Linked DNA regions of Homo sapiens: regions 2 and 3 are each linked to region 1. Evidence: promoter capture Hi-C in 16 types of primary human blood cells and fetal thymus (Javierre and others, 2016). All regions are on one chromosome and are shown on one strand. Each heading gives the region's core, a stretch centred on a gene start or on the middle of the fragment in contact. The rest is flanking DNA. Distances are from core to core; before and after follow the strand shown. Region 1 holds the start of SLC39A2 (solute carrier family 39 member 2). Region 2 overlaps PNP (purine nucleoside phosphorylase). Region 3 overlaps PARP2 (poly(ADP-ribose) polymerase 2).

What was found. Contacts are between HindIII fragments. The CHiCAGO score rates a contact against its expected background, and 5 or more counts as called.
Region 2: a fragment that was not itself captured here is called in contact with the fragment with the promoter of SLC39A2 in region 1 in 1 of 17 cell types (monocytes); the score reaches 5.1 in monocytes.
Region 3: a fragment that was not itself captured here is called in contact with the fragment with the promoter of SLC39A2 in region 1 in 1 of 17 cell types (monocytes); the score reaches 5.9 in monocytes.

What each region holds. Positions count from the first base shown.
Region 1 is chr14:20,997,152-21,001,942 of GRCh38, forward strand. SLC39A2 (solute carrier family 39 member 2) reads left to right here and starts at 2,142. Exons shown (of 4, transcript NM_014579.4): 1 at 2,142-2,410; 2 at 2,591-2,721; 3 at 2,965-3,015; 4 at 3,796-4,720. The coding sequence starts at 2,296. The coding sequence ends at 4,428. LOC101929718 (a long non-coding RNA gene) reads right to left here and starts at 2,012. Exons shown (of 4, transcript NR_110139.1): 1 at 1,623-2,012; 2 at 529-663; 3 at 1-59. RefSeq lists enhancers at 1-177, 2,201-3,400. The HindIII fragment of the contact is 5,548 bases long and covers 926-4,791 here.
Region 2 is chr14:20,472,658-20,476,079 of GRCh38, forward strand. PNP (purine nucleoside phosphorylase) reads left to right here. Exons shown (of 6, transcript NM_000270.4): 3 at 1,815-1,918; 4 at 2,116-2,291; 5 at 2,405-2,595. Among named protein-coding and RNA genes, the nearest start is that of PNP, 5.0 kb to the left of the region's middle. The HindIII fragment of the contact is 2,199 bases long and covers 420-2,618 here.
Region 3 is chr14:20,355,196-20,359,737 of GRCh38, forward strand. PARP2 (poly(ADP-ribose) polymerase 2) reads left to right here. Exons shown (of 16, transcript NM_001042618.2): 10 at 557-620; 11 at 702-836; 12 at 1,112-1,239; 13 at 1,395-1,494; 14 at 1,856-1,954; 15 at 2,201-2,325; 16 at 2,443-2,709. The coding sequence ends at 2,602. Among named protein-coding and RNA genes, the nearest start is that of PARP2, 14 kb to the left of the region's middle. The HindIII fragment of the contact is 3,285 bases long and covers 977-4,261 here.

The DNA.
Region 1 (4,791 bases), core at 892-3,391:
CAGTGAACTTTGATTGTAACACTGCACTTCAGCATAGGTAACAGAGCAAGACGTCCTCCCTTAAAAAAAAAAAAAAAAAAAAAACATGTAAAAGGTATAGTTAATTATCCTGGCCTATCCTGTAATGAAGAGCTTCCTCAGATTTTTGGTGCCAGGCTTCCCACACAAATCTCAAGCTCGCCCTCTCCTATTGTGGCAGTTCAGAGCTCCATAAGCTCTTCGCTGTAATGATGAATGTGTAAGCTGATCATTAAAGCAGAAGTAGAAAAACCAGATTTCCATAAGCCCTTTGCTATAATGATGAATGTACAAGTTAAACATTAAAGCAGAAGCAAGAAAAATGGATAAGGAATCGGGGGAAACTGGTGCCTGAGTACGAAAGCCAGAATACAAAAAAAGCAAGCCCTTTAAAGCCCCACCTATACTTTCTCTACCTCAGATCTAGCTGAGTGATAAAAGCATTCCTGCACATACAACCCATCCCAGGACCAACTTAAGATTAAGAAACTTCTGTCTGCAAGTACTCACTCACTATGGTGGGATCAGCTGCAAAGCGAACTGTCCCATGCTCATGTTGATGGTTTTCTAGATACTGCCAACATGTTAGCTCTTTCTGGTGCCGATGAATTTCAAACGCGAACAGACACCCTTGATGTGGGTTTGCTAAGAAAATAGAAGAACAGGAAGAAAAGTTGCCAGGTTCAGACATCCCAGGGAAAAAGAAGCGTAAACAGCATTAGCAATCAGTGACTGATGATAATGCTGCAATAATGGGAATGGTTTTATTTCTAAATCAAATCGTTTATTGCTTTGTTTCTAAAAAACAAAAAAAAAACTTCTACCTGCAGACCCCTAGTTTAGATTAATTAGGAAACATTCCCGCAGGTAGTCATAGAGCTTGAATTGTATATAAAAGCTAAAGAAAAGCTTGTAACTTTGAGTTGGTCTGGTGTGCTACTCCGACCTCCCTGTAATCAGTTGCAGAAATAAACTCCCGTCTTTCCCAGTCTGTCTGTCTGCATCTCATTACCGGACCACAAGAACAAGCAGCAGGACCAGTAACACTGTAAGAATCATCCAGTAACACTGTAAGAATACTGCTTCTACCAGAGGCCAGGACTTCCCTAGGAAAATAATCTGGAGTAGCAAGGAAAGCTGCCTCCAGAGCTCTGAGAACTGGCTCAACAGGTCTCAGGGTTGTTATGTGGGCCACCTGAATAGGGGAATCAGCAGCTGCCTGGCCTCTTGTACTAACGCCTTCCCTTCTGTCTTTCCCAGGGTCCCTCAGCTACCCTAGAGTATGTATGGGAAATGCCCCAGACATTTCCATCAAGAGTGATTCCCATCAGAACTGAATCTTCTACCCCCACCTCTCTATATCCAGGTAGAATCCTCCCATTCACTCAGTTCATTTCTGTTTTCCCCTAAGCCTTGCTGTTTCAGGGCTAGAGCAGCTTCCTTTGTCTTAAACCTTAAATGTCTTTTTTTCCACAGTTCTTACCAGGAAACAGGCACAGTTAGAAGTTGTAACAGTATAAATGTTGTAATACCAGACATCTCAACTCATTCCTCTCAAAACTGATCCCAATCAAAAGAGAAAGAAAAAAAACAAATCAACTTACCACTAGACATTTCCATGCCTGGAGCTATTTTTCTGGGGTTACAGGAAAGGGTAGTTCCCTCATGTGGGTACTAGTTCCCACAGAGTAGCACCAGCACCACCTCTCAGCCCCACCTCTTTACCTCCAGGTGGCCCCAAATCTCTGAAAGCGGGTGGTTCAAGTATCAGCATTGCAACCTATAAGACTTGGGATGAGGTGGAGAGGGTATGGAAGGCTTAGATCAAACGTCCTGAGTGAGACAGGACCAGATTGTCCCCAGTACAAAATAGCTGGGAAGCAGCTACCATAGACTTTCCTATTTTGGATTAGACCAACCCCAAGCACATGAACTAAGACTATCCGTAGCTCTTGGATTAGTCATGCCATTGAAGAGGAGGAGAAGACGCCACTGGGCTGTGCCTGGCAGGGAGTCTGGAGTTTCTGGTTTCCAAGCTCAGGAAGGCGTGAACCAGGGGAGGGGCCTCCATGCAGGGGGAGGGCTAGAAGCTGGGGCAGGATCTGTCAGCTCTGCAATGCTGCAGAAGCAGAAGCAACACAGAAAGAAGATACCAACAGCCTCCTGAAACTCACGAGAGTGGACACTCCAGTGTTGACCACCTAAGATACCACTCCTGCTCCAAAGATTACAGCTCCCTTGTCATTCTGACTCCTGGGCTTACCCTACACCCCAGAGATGGAGCAACTACTAGGAATAAAACTTGGCTGCCTGTTTGCCCTGTTGGCTCTCACTCTGGGCTGTGGCCTTACTCCCATCTGCTTCAAATGGTTCCAGATTGATGCAGCCAGAGGTATAGCCCTACCCCATCTTTGTTCCATAGCCTGAGTCTCACCTCAACCCTGTCCTGATACCTTGCTCTGATTCTCTCACCATCCCCAACCTTGGGATATTGAGTGCTGCCTGCTGCTCTTTACTCACCTTTGTCTGTCTCCTCAGTGTCAAGTGGGTTGTAACTTCTGCTTTTTATTAGGTCATCACCGGCTAGTCCTCAGACTCCTGGGCTGTATTTCTGCTGGTGTTTTCCTGGGAGCAGGGTTCATGCATATGACTGCTGAAGCCCTGGAGGAAATTGAATCACAGATTCAGAAGTTCATGGTGCAGGTGAGAGCAGAGATTTCAAGCCGCAGGTCTATGAGGCCAAAATGATAAACAGGACAAAGGGAAGAGAGCGGGAAAGTGATGGAGCCAAGGACATGGGTGGAACGACAAGGAAAATGACAGCTCTTGTGTGGGATGGTGAAAGCAAGTCAGATTAGGCTTTAAGGAAAACAGAATTGCTGAAGGGACAGCACAGGAAGCTGTGCTGCTCCATCCCACATCTAATTTCTGCTGCTTTCTTCTTAGAACAGATCAGCAAGTGAGAGAAATTCTTCTGGTGATGCTGATTCAGCTCATGTAAGTACCTCCCACCATCCCCTATCTGGAGAGTGAGGAGAACCAGAGAGGCCTTTCATATCCAGACCCTTTTGAGAGGAATACATGAGGAGTACCAAGAATCCCTTCTGCTCCCTAGCTCAGACATCGTAGAGGAAAAGAGGAGCAAATCCAATCCTTTTGAGTTTATAGAATGCCAGGGAAAGCCCTTGTTTTACTCTTTCATTCTTTCCCTGGATCCTCTGATATACCTCACATCATTTGCCCATGTTTTTAACTCTATTGAGATTCTGTCCCTTAGCCCCTCTGGCAGTCTTTTGTTGTTGTTGTTTTTCGTTTGTTTGTTGAGATGAAATCTCTCTGTCGCCCAGACTGGAGTACAGTGGCACAATCTCGGCTCACTGCAACCTCTGCCTTCCGAGTTCTAGTGATTTTCCTGCCTCAGCCTCCTGAGTAGCTGGGATTACAGGCACGTGCCACCACACCTGGCTAGTTTTTGTATTTTTAGTAGAGACGGGGTTTCATCATGTTGGCCAGGCTGGTCTCAATCTCCTGACCTCAAGTGATCTGCCCACTTCAGTCTCCCAAAGTGCTAGGATTACAGGCATGAGCCACTGTGTCCGGCCCACTCTGGCATTCTTGTTGTTGCATGGCCATGTCTACTCTTGGCTTCATTTCCCCTACCCTTTTTTGTGTTCTGTTACCACATTTTCTCATTCTCTTCAATCTCCCAATTCCATGTCCATCCAATGTATTGCCTACCCTTCCTTTCCATCTCACAGCCCTTCTTTTTGTTTCTAGATGGAGTATCCCTATGGAGAGCTCATCATCTCCCTGGGCTTCTTTTTTGTCTTCTTTTTGGAGTCGCTGGCATTGCAGTGCTGTCCTGGGGCTGCTGGAGGATCGACAGTGCAGGACGAAGAATGGGGTGGGGCTCATATCTTCGAACTCCACAGCCATGGACATTTACCCTCACCCTCAAAGGGTCCCCTCCGAGCCCTTGTCCTCTTGCTGTCACTCTCCTTTCACTCAGTGTTTGAAGGGCTAGCTGTGGGGCTGCAGCCGACAGTAGCAGCTACCGTGCAGCTCTGCCTTGCTGTCCTGGCTCATAAGGGGCTTGTGGTGTTTGGTGTAGGAATGCGGCTAGTGCATTTAGGTACCAGCTCACGATGGGCAGTGTTCTCCATACTATTATTAGCTCTCATGTCCCCCCTGGGCCTAGCCGTAGGGCTGGCTGTGACTGGAGGGGACTCTGAAGGAGGGCGGGGCTTAGCCCAGGCTGTGTTAGAGGGTGTGGCAGCTGGTACCTTCCTGTATGTCACCTTCCTAGAAATTCTTCCACGGGAGCTAGCTAGTCCTGAGGCCCCTCTAGCTAAGTGGAGCTGTGTAGCCGCTGGTTTTGCCTTCATGGCCTTTATTGCCTTGTGGGCCTGAGAGATTCCTGGCTTTTCTGATGGACCTATTTAGGACAACCTCTCTATCCCCAGGGAGACCTCCCAAATGGCTTTGACCCTCAGACATTTCTTTACTCAGACTAAATAGCATTCAGTAGGACTGGACTGGACCCCAGGTTTCCTTTACATGAGATCCCATTTCTCACCCTGGACTAAGACAAAGATATTTAGGTTGAGCAGCTATTAATTGGAGAATTGGTACAGAGACGCTCCAGATTTTATTCTTATCCCATTTATGCTACTGTGTGTAATAAAATGCCCATTTTACCCTCCTTCAGCCATTCTGGATTTCATTTCTCCTGGTTGCCTAGATGCTACCTGGCACAGGAAGTGGTGGAATGGG
Region 2 (3,422 bases), core at 269-2,768, 530 kb before region 1:
ATCCCATAAGAGACAGGACATGTGTGTGTCAGTGGACTGAGGCTAAGACTCAGAAGAGGGCCAGGTGACAGGGGCCAAGTAAAGGGCAAGGGTTGTTTATTTGGTTTACGTAATTTCTCAAATAACTAACTTCTGTTGGTTTATTTATTAATTTTTAAGATTTCTATCTTCTTTTCCCTGGAGAGTTAAGAATTTTTTTTTAAGACCTGTCAGCAGGAAAAGACCTTTAATAGCTATTTTTTTAAACTCTTTAACACAAGACTGGAAGAGCAGAGGGAGAAGGTGAGGGAAATATTAACAGAGGGTGTGTGAAGGGCATACTTCTCTAAGGGAGATAGTAGTGACGCTGGCTCCACTGGCCACTCCTACCCCCAGTGAGAAGGGCACTGCATTAAATGATAAGTGGGTTAGTTTTTTTAAGCTTATCAACATGTTTATTTTTTATACTCCACTTGGGTTTCCTTTGTCAACTTTATTACTGTTTTTGTTTTGTTTTTTTGCATAAGCTCCTCTATCTTTGAGAATTTCTCAGCTCTTCCTCTTGGTTCTAGTCCCTCTCCCATTCCCTAAGGGATAGGTTGGCCGTCTATTAGAAGTGACTGCCAGATAAAAGAAATGGTAATAATGGCTGTTATGTCTGTGGGGAGTTATCTTTGCACTCCCACGCACCCCTCCGTGGGCATGTGTTCCCATAGGACTGTTCCGTGGGTCATAAGGAAAGAGACACTTGCATGCGTTCAAATTCTTTCCCCCTTGTTCAGTAGCCTCTTCTTTAAGAAGCCAGAGTAAGTATACTATGAGCTTGCTTGCTGGACTGAGGAGGCAGGTAATTAAGTTAGGGCAATAGATAAGAATACATGTTTTGAGAACTTTGAAAAATTTGAAGAGGTCTATAATTACTGCATTCACTGTACTCACTTTATTTTGAAACAGAGTCTCGCTCTGTCACCCAGGCTCGAGTGTAGTGTTGTGATCTCGGCTCACTGCAACCTCCACCTCCCAAGTTCAAGAGATTCTCCCACCTCAGCCTCCCGAGTAGCTGGGATTACAGGCATGTGCCACCACACCTGGCTAATTTTTGTATTTTTAGTAGAGATGAGGTTTCACCATGTTGGCCAGGGTGGTCTTGAACTCCTGGCCTGTTGATCCGCCTGTCTTGGGCTCCCGAAGTGCTGGGACTACAGGTGTGAGACACCGCACCTGGCCTATTTTTAATTTTAATTTTTATAGATTTACAGGGGTACAATGCAGTTTTGTTATATGGATATACTGCGTGGTGGTGACGTCTGTGCTTTAGTGTAACCATCACCTGAGCAGTGAACATTGTACTTATTAGGTAATTTCTCATCCCTCATCCCCATCCCACTTTCTCACCTTTCCGAGTCCCCAGTGTCTATTATTTCACTCTGTAGGTCCATATGTACACATTTGGTTCCCACTTATAAGTGAGAACATGTAGTATTTAATCTTCCATTTCTGAGTATCTACTTTTTTTGCTCACTTTTTACTCTCTGGCAGTATGGCTTGTATTATCTTGAAATTTCTTTAAAAAGCCCTTCCTTCTTTGTGTGTTCATGCTGAACATGCTGAACGCACCCCATATCTCTAATCTTGGGTTGTATTTGTATAATTATTAGTAATGCCTGGCTCTCTCACCAGACTTAAACTTTCTGAAAGCAGAGATAATAATGAGTCTTTTACTTAATTACAACCTAACATTTTGAGCAGAGCGAGTAACTCACAGTAGGTGCTTAATGGATATGTGTTGCATGAAAATATAATCCCATTCATTTCTCTTTCTGTTTTGTATACAGTGCCAGGTCATGCTGGCCGACTGGTGTTTGGGTTCCTGAATGGCAGGGCCTGTGTGATGATGCAGGGCAGGTTCCACATGTATGAAGGGTACCCACTCTGGAAGGTAAGTCAGAGGGATAGGTCCGGTTGGATCTGGAAGAGGCAGGAGAGAACTATCTAGCCTCTTTCACTACCTAGCTATCTGGGCTAGGTGGATTTTTGGTCCTCTCCTTCCTTTTCTTTCACGATGTATGTCATGCATTTCAGTGTAGCTGAATTAATGAAATTTTGTAAATTTTTTTCGGATTGTTTGCTTCGAAGGTGACATTCCCAGTGAGGGTTTTCCACCTTCTGGGTGTGGACACCCTGGTAGTCACCAATGCAGCAGGAGGGCTGAACCCCAAGTTTGAGGTTGGAGATATCATGCTGATCCGTGACCATATCAACCTACCTGGTTTCAGTGGTCAGAACCCTCTCAGAGGGCCCAATGATGAAAGGTATGTATGTTACTCCGTTTTTTTTAGGTGGGTAGGATTTAAAGACTTCTCTAGGAGCTGTGGGAGAATTTTTAAAATTCCGTTTATGTGAGATAATTCAACCTGTGTCCTAGGTTTGGAGATCGTTTCCCTGCCATGTCTGATGCCTACGACCGGACTATGAGGCAGAGGGCTCTCAGTACCTGGAAACAAATGGGGGAGCAACGTGAGCTACAGGAAGGCACCTATGTGATGGTGGCAGGCCCCAGCTTTGAGACTGTGGCAGAATGTCGTGTGCTGCAGAAGCTGGGAGCAGACGCTGTTGGTGAGAAGGGGAATTTGGCTGGAAGCTTGAAGAGGGAGGGGTTTAGCAAAATGGGAAGGGGAAGGAGTAGGAAATAACAGGCCTCATTGGACTGAGAGGATCTGATTTCAGGGAAGGGTGAATTAAACTGACTTATTGAAATACAAACTGGTGAGATTTGGTGTAGCATCAAATCTCCCTACGAAGCACCAAGGGGTTAACAGCTGCAGTGCTAATGAATGATCTATCCATGATTTGATGACTGTTTTTTGAGACGGAATGTCGCTGTGTTGCCCAGGCTGGAGTGCAGTGGCATGATCTCGGCTCACTGCAACCTCCGCCTCCCGGGTTCAAGCAATTCTCATGCCTCAGCCTTCCGAGTAGCTGGGATTACAGACGTGTGCCACCACGCCCGGTTAATTTTTGTATTTTTAGTAGAGACAAGGTTTCACCATGTTGGCCAGGCTGGTCCTTGAACTCGCGACCTCAGGTAATCCGCCCATCTTGGCCTCCTAAAGTGCTGGCATTACAGGCGCGACGCACTGTGCCTGGCCAATGTGATGACTGTTTCTAAGAATTCTAAAAAATTCACTATAGCCACCTTCTGTACCTCTAGCTGGAAGATGGAACTCTATCATTAGGATTGAGTTCAAAATTGCCACAAATATAGAAATGAAGGATTGTATTGGTAATTTTAAGAAATGTGTATTTATTTTAGGCAATACAGAAGATAATTTAGCTGCTTCTTTGGATTTGTTTTAGGTGGGGCCTTGCTCTGTTGCCAAGGTTGGAGTGCAGTGGCACCATCTCTAGCTCACTACAGTTCTGACTGCCTGGGCTCAAACAAT
Region 3 (4,542 bases), core at 1,369-3,868, 640 kb before region 1:
TAGCTATCCAACCACCCAAGTAAAACACCTTCAGGCATATCACCCCCTTTTCCTATTTGAGTAACTAAAACCACACAAACACCATTTCTGTGAACTCAAGTGATATTAGATAGACAAAATAACATTTTACATTTGTTGATTCTGTTTTCTGGTTTACATCCGATTTCTATTTCTTTTATAGCTTTATAGAGCCCCGTGACCTAGAAATAACCCTGAGTGGTCAACAGGTCTACCTGTGCTTCTAGATAGAACTGTATCCAACTGTTCCCTGTTGATATCAATATAACTTATTTTTAAATGATTTTATAAAAAATAATTTTAACTCTAGTCTCAAAAGTCAAAATCCACATAGTTCATCTTATACCGAGTATATATTTAATATTATTTTATATATTTGGAAGTTAAGATCTCTTTACAGATCTCTTTCTCTCTCAAATGGAAAACCTGTTTCTCATACCTGTTTTCTAAAGGACCTATCTGTCATTTTCTATTTTTAGTCATGCGCCTTTTAGCCACATGTCAGAAAGCTCATTATGGGTTATATCTCTGTTCTTAGACTCCGTACTCCTCCACTAATCCGGACACAGAAGGAACTGTCAGAAAAAATACAATTACTAGAGGTGAGATATGTATGATTTGAGAAGTATTATATCCCTTATACCAGTGTCCTCCCACATTGATTCTATATCTCATCTTCTCAGGCTTTGGGAGACATTGAAATTGCTATTAAGCTGGTGAAAACAGAGCTACAAAGCCCAGAACACCCATTGGACCAACACTATAGAAACCTACATTGTGCCTTGCGCCCCCTTGACCATGAAAGTTATGAGTTCAAAGTAAGAAAAATGATCATTTATTTTCATATTCTTGCACCCTTAACCACCTCCCCCATCCCACTGTTCTCTAACTACTTCTTGTCAAGAGCAAATTGTCAATTAGGGCAGACTTTTTATGTACTAGGGATTTGGGAAGGCCAAGCTTTTCCTAGCTGCCTTGTAAGACTGTTTGGGAGCAGAAAGGTCTGCCAAGTTATATCAGAATCCCCAAATTCTTCAGTTCAGCTCAGTCTCTTGTAGAGTCTACATCAGCCTTTTTGTCTTATTTTTCACAGGTGATTTCCCAGTACCTACAATCTACCCATGCTCCCACACACAGCGACTATACCATGACCTTGCTGGATTTGTTTGAAGTGGAGAAGGATGGTGAGAAAGAAGCCTTCAGAGAGGACCTTCATAACAGGTCTGAGTCTAGCTTTGCGTTTGGAAAGACACTCCTTGCCCGAAAGTACAGCTGTAGAACTTATAAGAGGGAGTCAGAGGAAGGTGTTGGCTTTTTTATGCTTATGGCCTATCTGTGCAGAACAACAGAGTACAATAATATTGGCTTTTCCTTAGGATGCTTCTATGGCATGGTTCCAGGATGAGTAACTGGGTGGGAATCTTGAGCCATGGGCTTCGAATTGCCCCACCTGAAGCTCCCATCACAGGTTACATGGTGAGTGAAATTGAACTCTGGGAGGAGCACAGGGGAAAGGGATACAGTAATGTTCTCAGTGCTTTTTTTCCTAGATTAGGATTAGATGGTTCCCCTCCCCAAGAGTTAAGCCAGCTCACTGATAACCTTGTCATCTCTTACTGTGTCCCTCTTTCTTTAAATTCCTAAAGATACCTCACCTTTCCCTCAGAAGGCGGAAATTCACAGGGGCTTCTACCCTCTCTAGAACAGAATTGTGAGGGGAAATGGAGAAGGGTCTATATTGTGTTTAAGGGAATGGAAAAACAGGGTCAGTGGTATGCACCTTCTCTCTAACACAGTGGGTTAGAAGCTGACCTTGGTATTCATGTATATATTTCAGTTTGGGAAAGGAATCTACTTTGCTGACATGTCTTCCAAGAGTGCCAATTACTGCTTTGCCTCTCGCCTAAAGAATACAGGACTGCTGCTCTTATCAGAGGTGAGACAGGAGTATGTCTGTGATCTCTAGTTTATTAATTCCAGTTTTTTTCCGATGAGAAAAGTTTGACCCCAGAACCAAGAGGTTTACCTGGGATAGCTTGAGAGAGGACCAAGTACAATTTCTAGTACATTGGATTCCTCTGCTGGAGTAGGGGAAAAAAGTACTGATGGGATTTTCTGTTTGGCTTTGGAGCCATCTAATTCTTAGTAGGATATGGGAATTCAAAGGTTTTTTGCTTTGCAGGTAGCTCTAGGTCAGTGTAATGAACTACTAGAGGCCAATCCTAAGGCCGAAGGATTGCTTCAAGGTAAACATAGCACCAAGGGGCTGGGCAAGATGGCTCCCAGTTCTGCCCACTTCGTCACCCTGTAAGTACTCAGAACCAGGAGGACTAGAAGACTCCTTTTGGCCAGATAAGACTACGTTCTCTATTGCAGCTTCTGAACCAGAGACTGATGTTGACACACTTTTTTTCCATTTGGCAGGAATGGGAGTACAGTGCCATTAGGACCAGCAAGTGACACAGGAATTCTGAATCCAGATGGTTATACCCTCAACTACAATGAATATATTGTATATAACCCCAACCAGGTCCGTATGCGGTACCTTTTAAAGGTTCAGTTTAATTTCCTTCAGCTGTGGTGAATGTTGATATTAAATAAACCAGAGATCTGATCTTCAAGCAAGAAAATAAGCAGTGTTGTACTTGTGAATTTTGTGATATTTTATGTAATAAAAACTGTACAGGTCTACCACTGGCTTCTTCGGGCTTTATTTCTCCAAGAACATATTTCTTCTGACATTAGTAGATCTCCATTTCCAGGACAGAAATTACTCATTGCTCTGAGGGTTATTCAGTATCCTGTTCTTAGTGGCATCTGTGCATTGAGGGACACTAATGGGGGCGCTAATGCTTTTACCTGTTTAATTCAATTTTTCTGCAAACTGGAATTTGTTGAGTATTATCACAGGAAGGGTAGAGGCAACAAAGGCTAAGTCGTGTTTTTCTTTCCCATGCATATGTATTCACTTGCCTTTTTCAAATTTATCCACTGCAGCCTAGGTCTCCCACTACTCAACATCCTAGGACTCATCACATGTCCAAAAATTTGGGAAGCCCTTGGAGGACTGTCACTAAGCCTGAATACATCTTGAGGAGGAAAGGAAAAAAGTGGAATGAGTTTTTACATAACCTGCTCCAACTAAGAAGTACTAAAGTCCAGGTCAGATCCTGATATGGTTAGGCTTTGTGTCCCCATCCAAATCTCATCTTGAACTGTAATCCCCAGAATCCCCACATTTTAAGGGAGAGACCAGGTGGAGGTAACTGAATCATGGGGGCAGTTTCCCCCATGCTGTTCTTGTGATAGTGAGTGAGTTCTCACGAGATCTGATGGTTTTATAAGGGGCTCTTCCTACTTCGCTTGGCACTTCTCCTTCCTGCCACCCTGTGAAGAAGGGCTTCCCCTTCACCTTCCTCTATGATTGTAAATTTCCTGAGGCCTCCTCAGCCATGGTGAACTGTGAGTCAAACCTCTTTCCTTTATAAATTACCCAGTCTCGGGCAGTTCCTTATAGCAGTATGAAAACAGACTAATACAGATCCAAAGACTTCCTGATTGTATTTAAACACACAACACAGATAAACAACACACTTCCTTAAGTAACAGAGAAGTTTGTTTAAATTTTTCCTGTAACTTTTTAGAAACCAGGTTTCCAATATCTATCAAAATTTGAAATGTTCATGCCCTGTTGACCTAAAACTTACAGATATATATGTTTGCATAGATGTCACTGAGGCATTGGTGTACACAAAAAGATCATAGATAAGGAACTAGTCAAATATATCTACTCACTGAAGTAACCTGCTATTAAAACTGAAGTAGACTGCATACTTTTCCAAAGAATAGAAGAGAGGAAAATACTTTGCAACTAATTCTACAAAGCAGAATGAAACCAAAACCAGATGAAGATATCACAAGAAAATAAAATTATAGACCAATATCCCTTAACAATATAATTGCAAAAATCAACAAAATACTACCAAGCCTAATCCAGCAACATTATAAATGGACTATATACAATGATCAAGTGAGATTTATCACAGTAATGCAAGATTGAAAACCAAGGTAGGGCAAAAATCACATGATCATCTCAGATGCAGAAAAAGCATTTGGCAAAATGTAACATTTTTTCATAATGAAATAAAATCCAACAAAGTAGGAATGAAAGGGAGCTTCCTCCACCCTATGAAGAACATCTATGAAAAACTCACAGCTAACATTACAATGGTGAAAGATTGAAAGCTTATCCTCTAAGATCAGGAATAAGACCAAGATGTTTGCACTCACCACTTCCATTCAATATTGTACTGGAGGTTCTAACCATGGTACTTAAGCAAGAAAAAAAAGGCATCAAGATTAAAAAGGAGATAAAACTAAATTTGCAAATTACGTGATCTATAGAGAAGGCCCAAAAGAATCCATATTTAGAGCTAAAAAGTTCAGCAAGATTGTAGGATACAAGATGAATTGTATTTCTTTTTTTTTCTTTTTCTTTTTTTTTTTGAGACGGAGTGTCTTGCT